3 separate regions of the Homo sapiens genome follow, and regions 2 and 3 are each linked to region 1. Evidence: promoter capture Hi-C in 16 types of primary human blood cells and fetal thymus (Javierre and others, 2016). All regions are on one chromosome and are shown on one strand. Each heading gives the region's core, a stretch centred on a gene start or on the middle of the fragment in contact. The rest is flanking DNA. Distances are from core to core; before and after follow the strand shown. Region 1 holds the start of AQR (aquarius intron-binding spliceosomal factor). Region 2 overlaps AFG2B (AAA ATPase AFG2B). Region 3 overlaps DTWD1 (DTW motif tRNA-uridine aminocarboxypropyltransferase 1).

Region 1 (2,700 bases), core at 83-2,582:
GCCCGGCTAATTTTTTTTCTTTTTATTTTTAGTAGAGACGGGGTTTCACCGTGTTAGCCAGGATGGTCTCGATCTCCTGACCTCGTGATCCGCCCGCCTCGGCCTCCCAAAGTGCTGGGATTACAGGCGTGAGCCCCTGCGCCCGGCCGGAAGGCAGAAATTTTAAGAAGGCAAGTGATATGATGAGATTTGCACTTGTATGAAATCACTCGGAAAGCAACATGAAGAATGGGCTAGAGCAGAGCAAGAGGAAGGACAATATAACAGATTACGATACCTTGGTCCAGGCAGAAAACAATGGCAACCAAGCTTAGGGTGACAGAGATGTAGAACACCAGATAGATTCAAAAGATATTTAGAATGTAGAAATGTAGGGACTAAGGGAAAGGGAGGATTCAAAATCACTCCCTAGGCTTCTGCCCTGGCAAATCTGTTGAGACAAGGAATAAAGAATAAAGAAGCAGGTGGGCATGATAACTTCTACATTGAACTACTTACACTCTTATGCAATTCACAAATAAATAATAAGAATGAGGAATGATGCTGACAACCACAGGACTGTGGTTCCCTATCCAAAGCCAACTGTGGCTCACAATGCAAGATAGTAAACAGATTCTAAATGAACGCTCTCAAACTACAGAATTACTCTGTTTTTAGATAGGTCTATTTGGAGGTGTCTTGTCAGTTTCTCATCGCTGCTCAAAAACTCAGGACACTCTAAGGACCAGGAAAAAGCCTACTCCTACTTGAAGAGGCAGTCCAGCATCACTCTGCTGCGAAGCCTACTTGCCAGTCTCAGATAGACTGGGGTGTTCCCTCCTCTCTGAATCCATTGCTCCTGAGACAAACTCCAACACAGCAAAACTCATACAGTAGTTTTATTTTCATGCGTCTGTCTTCCTTGGGCCATGAACTCCCCAGGGCAGGGCAGCTTCTTTCACCACGGTATGCCCAGCACCTAGCATAGTGGCCGGCACGGAGCTGATACTCAGTAAAAAGACGTGTGTGAATCAATTAACAAACGAATGCCTCCTCCGGACTCCTAAATCCTGAAAAAAAACCCCACCACCAGGCCTCGGGGCCACGACGTCCATACCCACTCACACACACCAGACTCGCCCGAGCTCACCTGGGTCACGAACTCCGCATTGATTTGGGACACCGTAGGGGCCACGATCTTCTTGGGCTGCGCAGGGGCTGCCATGGCAGCACTCTTCCCTCCACTCCAGTGGAAACTAAAGGACCGCTCTGGGCAGCGGCAACCCTGGTCCACTTCCCTTAAGTTACTGCCGGGGCGCTTAACTCCGCGCCGCACAAACGCTCCGGGCCGGATATCCTCAGCCTTCAGAGTCCCGTAGGGAACCCGTACAACAGCCCAAGCGTTCCTCGGGAAGCGGAATGGCGTGTAGCCGGAAGTTCATGCAGGCGTTGGGGCTGAGCTAGCGAGCCAAGAGCTTTGACCTCCTCTGTACACGCCCTCTAGCGGGCGGCAGAGAGAAGACACCTCGCTGGCGGGATTAGGAGGGCAAGGGAGGGACCCGGTGGATGGTGTTGGGTGGGGTTTCTCGTGGTTAGTGAAGAGTGCCGTGTGCGGTGAATGGGGATTTAGTTTTTTTTCAACCCTAAAGAAAAAACAAAACAAAACAAAAAAAACAGCCTGGGAATATGGGCTGGGTTTTAACTGCCCTTAACAGTGTTTTAGTTTAGTTTTGTTTTTTTTGAGACGGAGTTTCGCTCTTGTTGCCCAGGCTGCAATGCAATGGTGCAATCTCGGCTCACAGCAACCTCTGCCTCCCGGGTTCAAGCGATTCTCCTGCCTCAGCCTCCCGTGTTGTTGGGATTACAGGCATGCGCCACCATGCACAGCTAATTTTTGTATTTTTAGTAGACACAGGGTTTCTCCGTATTGGTCAGGCTGGTCTCGAACTCACCAACTTTAGGTAATCCGCCTGCCTCAGGGTCCCAAAGTGCAGGGATTACAGGCCTTAACAGTTTTATGGAGGTAAAAATTGACATACAATAACCCAGCCAGGCGCGGTAGTCACGCCTGTAATCCCAGCGTTTTGGGAGGCTGAAGCTGGCCGATTGCCTGAGGTCAGGAGTTTGAGACCAGCCTGGCTAACATGGTGAAAACCCATCTCTACTAAAAAACAAAATTTAGCCGGGCGTGGTGGCGCGCGCCTGTAGTTCCAGCTACTCGGATTCAGGAGAATAATCACTTGAAGCTGGGAGGCGGAGGTTGCAGTGAGCCGAGATTGCGCCATTGCACTCCAGCTTGGTGACAGAGCGAGACTAGCCTCAAAAAATAAAAATAAAATAATAATAAAAATAATTCACATACAATAACCCACACATATTTAGGTTGTAAAATTTGATGCGTTTTGACATGAACATACATTTGTGAAACTATTGCCAAAATCATAATGAGCATATCAAAGCCTCTAAAAGTTTCCTCGTGAACTTTTGCTATCTGTGCCTTTCACTGTTCCCACCCACTTTTCAGGCAACCACTGATCTGCTTTCTGTCACTATAGTTTGCTTTTCATGGAATTTTATATAAATGAAATAATACAGTGCATGCCTTCTTTCACTCAACGAAATGATTTTGAGATGGATTCATGTTGTTGCATGTATCAGTAGTTCATTCCTTTTTTATTGCTTAACATTCGTTCCATTTTACTGATATACCACAGTTTGATA
Region 2 (2,700 bases), core at 83-2,582, about 10 Mb after region 1:
AAAAATACTTTTAGTCCAATTTCCTTGATAGGGAATGAACAAATCTTACAAATCAGTAAGAAAAGACCAACAGTCCAAGAGAAAATGGGTAATGGGGTATGAACAGGTAGTTGACAATAAAAGGAATGACAATAAACATGAAAGATGTTCAACCTTGATTTCTTCTAAAATTATTGTCTTTATTTTGAAATAATTAAAACTTATAGGAAAGTTGCAAGATAGTTACAAAGAACTTCCACTAAACCCTTTATCCAAATTCACCAATTTTTAACTTTTTGCCAAATAAGCTTTATCATTCTCTTTTGCTCTCCTTGCTCCCTCTCCTCTTCTCTTTCTCTCTCTCTCTGTCATCTCCATATATATGTATTTATATGCACATAGTATTTATTTATTTTGGACTATTTGAGAGAATGGGTTGCATATATCATGACACTTTATCCCTTAACATTTTAATGTCTATTTCCTAAGAACAGAAATGTTCCCATATGTCACCACAGTATGGTGATGTATAGTGTTGTGTCCTTAGAGCCTCACATGTAGAGGCACAGAGTGTACATTGGTTCCTCATTGGTGATGCTAACTTTTATCAACTAGTTCAGGCAGTGCGCAGTTTCTCCACTGTGGAACTGCTATTTTTCCCTTTGCCACTAATGAGAAATCTGTGGGGAGACACTTTGAGATATCCTGCTCCTCATCAAACTTTCAGGCTGGGCACAGTGGCTTACACCTGTAGTCCCAGCTGCTCAGGAGGCTGAGATAGAATGATCACTTGAGCCCAGGTGTTCGAGGCTCAATGAGCTGTTGCCTCAATGCCACTGCACTCCAGCCTGGGCAGCAGAGCAAGACCCTGTCTCATAAATGAATAAACTTTTACTCCCCTCAACATAGCATCCAATTCTTGCTCATAACAGCCTTTACTATCATGATTGCAAGACGGGCGATTTTTTTAATTCCAATATTCCCTCTACCTCATTTTGAATTGAAGAAATTTAGTTAACACAGTAATGAATGAGTACTGGTTCTTCCTGTCATATTGGCAGACATTTAAGAGTTTGGAAATGGGCCACGTGCGGTGGCTCACACCTATAATCCCAGCACTTTGGGAGGCTGAGATGGGTGGGTCAGTTGAGGTCAGGAGTTCAAGACCAGCCTGGCCAACATGGGGAAACCCCGTCTCTGCTAAAAATACAAAAATTAGTCAGGTGTGGTGGCTCATGCCTATAAATCCCAGCTACTCGGTAGGCTGAGGCACGAGAATCATTTGAACCCAGGAGGCGGAGGCTGCAGGGAGCCAAGATCACAGCACTGCACTCCAACCTGGGTGACAGAGTGAGACCCCGCCAAAAAAAAAAAAAAAAAGAGTTTGATAATGTCTGTACTGGAGAGGTGTGGAGAGAACACAGCTTCATATTATCGGAGAAGAATAAATTGTTGCAGCTTCCTTAGAGGACAATTTGGTAATAGCTGTCAAAATTGTATATGTGTGTACTTGTAAACCCAGTAATTCTACTTTGAGGAAATTATTACATAAAATACTTGAACATGAGTTTGAACATGGTGGCTCATGCCTGTAATCCCAGCACTTTGGGAGGCTGAGGTGGGAGGATCGCTCGAGCCCATGAGTTCCAGACCAGCCTGGGCAACATAGGGAGACCGCATCTCTACAAAAAAAAAATATATATATTTTTTTAATTAGCCAGGCTGGTGGCACATACCTGTAGTTCTAGCTACTCCGGAGGGTGAGGTGCAAGGATTACTTGAGCCTGGGAGACTGCAGTGAGCTATGATAACATCACTGCATTCCAGCCTGGGTAACAGAGTGAGACCCTGTCTCAAAATAAACAAATACTTGAACATGAGCACAAAGACTTTTTCAGTTGCAGCTTTGTTTTTAATATCTAAAGACTGGGGATGACCTAACGTTTGTCAGAAAGGTGTAGTTGGGGTAAATTCAGTAGTGTATTATGGAATTGTCAAAAAGAATGACGTAGAACTGTGTTAGTTGACATGAAAAGCTCTCTAAGATAGGTGAAAGAAGAAAAGTACAGGCTGATATAGTATGGTTCCATTTGTGTATCTGTTTAAAAGGATATATGTATGCTTACTAGCATAACATACTGGAAAAATACACAAACTCTTGACATCTTTCGGGGAAGAATTACTGGCAGGAATTGGCAGGGAGACATTTAATTCTTTGTACTATGTATATAAATTGTTTTTATAATGATAACAAAATAACTTTACAAATCCAAAAGAAGATTTTAAAAACAAATTGTGCTATAAAAAAAGACCAACCTAATTTTTGGTTTGATTTTGCTTTTTTGGGTGTATTTCTTCAGAACCAGGACAATCCTGTGATTGATGAAATAGACTTCCTTGAAGCTTTTAAAAATATTCAGCCCTCATCGTTTCGAAGCGTCATTGGATTAATGGATATCAAGCCTGTTGACTGGGAGGAGATTGGTGGCCTTGAAGATGTAAAACTGAAGTTAAAACAGGTAAGACAGATAATCTACTTAATCCAGTAGGATATTACAGATTAACATTCTGTGCATTTATGATGACAACATACTGCGCTGAAACTGCTCTTGCTCCTATCACTAATGTGATCCTAACATCTAAATCCAATGATTGCTTTTCAGTCCTTATTTAATTGGACTTCTGTGGATGTCTAAACTGGTTTTTATAATTTCCCACCTC
Region 3 (2,700 bases), core at 82-2,581, about 15 Mb after region 1:
ACCTGTAGGTCCTATGTGACCAAGTTCTTAAAAACACTCTAAAGAAAATTGGAAGTGGTTTTTTTCTAATACTGAATTGGTCCACAATATAGGACAGGGGAGTCTGTATAGTGTTCCATTGGGAGGTGAGTCAGCTTACAATAATGGAAGAGGTAGAAGCTTTTTGTTATTATTTTGGAGAAAAAAAAATTGCCAGCCTGCCACTTGTGCTAGGCTGCAGACGGCCCATAAAGGTAGTTTGTCAGATACTTCAGTAGTGAGATGCTTACTGGATGTGTTTTGCAGAATGGTTTTGATTTAGTTAACAAGTGTTTGTTGAGTTCCTGCTGTTGCATAAGAATCAGGAATAGGTGAGATCAGGGAAGGAATCTGCTCTTACAGAGTTGAATGCTGGAGGGGATAGATTCACTAAAGTACCTCCACAATAAATGCATTTTTCCATGTCAAATATGTGGAACTAATAATAAGTACTCAAAGAGGTTTAAGACATTGCTGTGGCCCATCTATGAGTTAATAAGGAACTGAATTAGAATCCTGACTTTGAGAGTGAAGATAGAGGATTATATACAAGGTAGATGCAACTTGGTGAGTATAATTAATTTGGGGTGGAAATTGGGTAGAAGGAGGAATAAAAAATTAATGTATTTTTAGCCTTAAGTTCCAGAATGATGGACGCACCATCAAGGTGTTAAAATTGTTAGTTCCTTAGGAACAGTCTTTATGTTTTCTAAGTCTTTTTAGCCCCCATGACTCAAATTGTACTTCCTTGCACATATTTGATGTTAACAAGTATGTTTTAAAAATTTTAAATAACCCCATTTGCAATAAAATCATTTGCAATGATTTTCTCACAGTCGAGGCAGGCTGTTGGCTCGGTTAGGACAGATGCCCTGATCATGTAGTTTCAGAGACCACTGGAGGGAGCTGCCCATGATTTACAATTGCTGGCCTCTTCTACGTGGCCACCTCAGCCATAAGTGAGAGTATATAGGTGAACTAAGAGGTGGAGCCATAAACATTTCTCTTTTACTGTCTTACAGGTATTTGTGGTGGTTGATTTTTCTAGAGGAAGGTTATTTATATAAAGCTTCACTAATATCCATTTAGTTATGTGGATAGCAGGTCCATGAACTGCAAAGTGATATTTCTGAGGTATCTCTAGGAGGAATGCACTTTCAGTGCCCTAGGATAACTCCAAAAACTCACCAGTAGTTTTCTGTTAAATGTCAGGCAACCACAGTAACTTTCATGACATCCACAGGAACTACATTTTTCAGTCCCACTATGCCTGGGCCTTTGAGTGGTACATGCATTCCCACTAAATAGCTACTCCATTACCCAGGGAAATGAAGTCAGGTTGAGCTACTCCAATCAAATTTCATTTTTTAGGATGAATCCCATCATCTGAATAACTCAGGACTATTAAAGCCTCAAAATGTTTCTCTGTAAGAACCTCAGGCAACACCAGGACAAACCCAAAGAGAGTTTAGGTGAAACTTAGCTTCGTATGTGCAGCAAAGAGACGCCAACAGAGCATTTGCAACTCTCATTTCTGGGGACTATTAGGATCTCTTCCCAAGCTTTTTTTTTTTCTCTGTTTTAGAGATGGGATCTCACTTTGTTGTCCAGACTGTTCTCAAACTCTTGTGCTCAAGTAATCCTCCCACCTTAACCTCCCAAATGCTAGTATTATAGGCATGAGCCACCATGCGTGGCCCTTCCCAAGCTTGGAACTTCCTTACCTGGGTCGTAGATGGACTCTAGGAGATCTCCAAACCTCCTGAAATTGTGTGCAAAATATTGTGTCTGTATATGCATTTTCTAGGGATGCGGTTTAATATTTTCATGTGATTCCTAAAAGAATCTGAGGCTCAAGAAAAGAGGGCATCTTAATATCCTGCACTTTCAGTCATTGAGGGCATGATCACAAAGATCAAAGCCATTTTTAGGCAGGTGAGTTGGAGTGGCAGTCAGAAGTAGGTAAGATTTTCTATTTGTGAGGCAGGAACAAGGGATTGGACCATTGTTCTTAAATACTGCTTTCTTACCCAAAATGCAAATCTGTGCGTAATCAGTACACAGCAAAAATATTTACTGTATTTTGTTTTTCCCCTTGGGTACATTTGGCAAGTGCCTTTTTCTACTATAACCGGCGTTTTTGTATCTCTTTATTTGTATCTCAAACTCACTGGGACTTACAATCTTAAAAAAAAAAAGAAAAAGAAAAATTCATTTGATGAGTAATTAAATTAGTGCCACTAACTTCTTCTCAGCAAATTATGTTGTATTTTATGTTTCTCTGGACTTTTTGTTCACTTTCTGTTTGGGAGACCACAAAATGTTTCCTGCTGGAGTCACAGCATTTCTCTTGTCCCTGTTTCTACTTAAAGTGCCTGGAGCTTCGTAGTTAAACCACAATGCCAGAAGGCTTTATAATAAGAGAATTATTTTACAGCTGTGGAATGCATATCGAATCAATAGGGCACCAGTGTTGTTTCTCCCTTGAAAGATATCTTCCTTACAGGGTATACAGATAGCAATTTTGGCAGCCATCACCCTTCTTTGAAGAAAATATTAAGTGGGAAAGTTATTTTACCATTTTTCTCTAGTACTAAAGAATCTGAATGATGTATGTTTTTAAAAAACATAAATTCTTAGAGTAAGTGGACATTAATGTTACTCTGTAAATTTTTAAAATTT

What was found. The method cuts DNA at HindIII sites, captures the fragments that hold promoters and counts their contacts. A CHiCAGO score of 5 or more calls a contact.
Region 2: a fragment that was not itself captured here is called in contact with the fragment with the promoter of AQR in region 1 in 1 of 17 cell types (total CD4 T cells); the score reaches 5.1 in total CD4 T cells.
Region 3: a fragment that was not itself captured here is called in contact with the fragment with the promoter of AQR in region 1 in 6 of 17 cell types (naive CD8 T cells, total CD4 T cells, total B cells and 3 more); the score reaches 14.1 in naive CD8 T cells.

What each region holds. Positions count from the first base shown.
Region 1 is chr15:34,968,410-34,971,109 of GRCh38, forward strand. It overlaps AQR (aquarius intron-binding spliceosomal factor), which reads right to left and starts at 1,333. Exons shown (of 35, transcript NM_014691.3): 1 at 1,130-1,333. The coding sequence starts at 1,204. RefSeq lists enhancers at 1,127-1,276, 1,327-1,436. The HindIII fragment of the contact is 5,969 bases long and covers 308-2,700 here.
Region 2 is chr15:45,408,033-45,410,732 of GRCh38, forward strand. AFG2B (AAA ATPase AFG2B) reads left to right here. Exons shown (of 8, transcript NM_024063.3): 3 at 2,340-2,498. Among named protein-coding and RNA genes, the nearest start is that of AFG2B, 7.0 kb to the left of the region's middle. The HindIII fragment of the contact is 2,095 bases long and covers 286-2,380 here.
Region 3 is chr15:49,621,846-49,624,545 of GRCh38, forward strand. All of the region lies in intron 1 of DTWD1 (DTW motif tRNA-uridine aminocarboxypropyltransferase 1), which reads left to right. Among named protein-coding and RNA genes, the nearest start is that of DTWD1, 2.1 kb to the left of the region's middle. The HindIII fragment of the contact is 493 bases long and covers 1,086-1,578 here.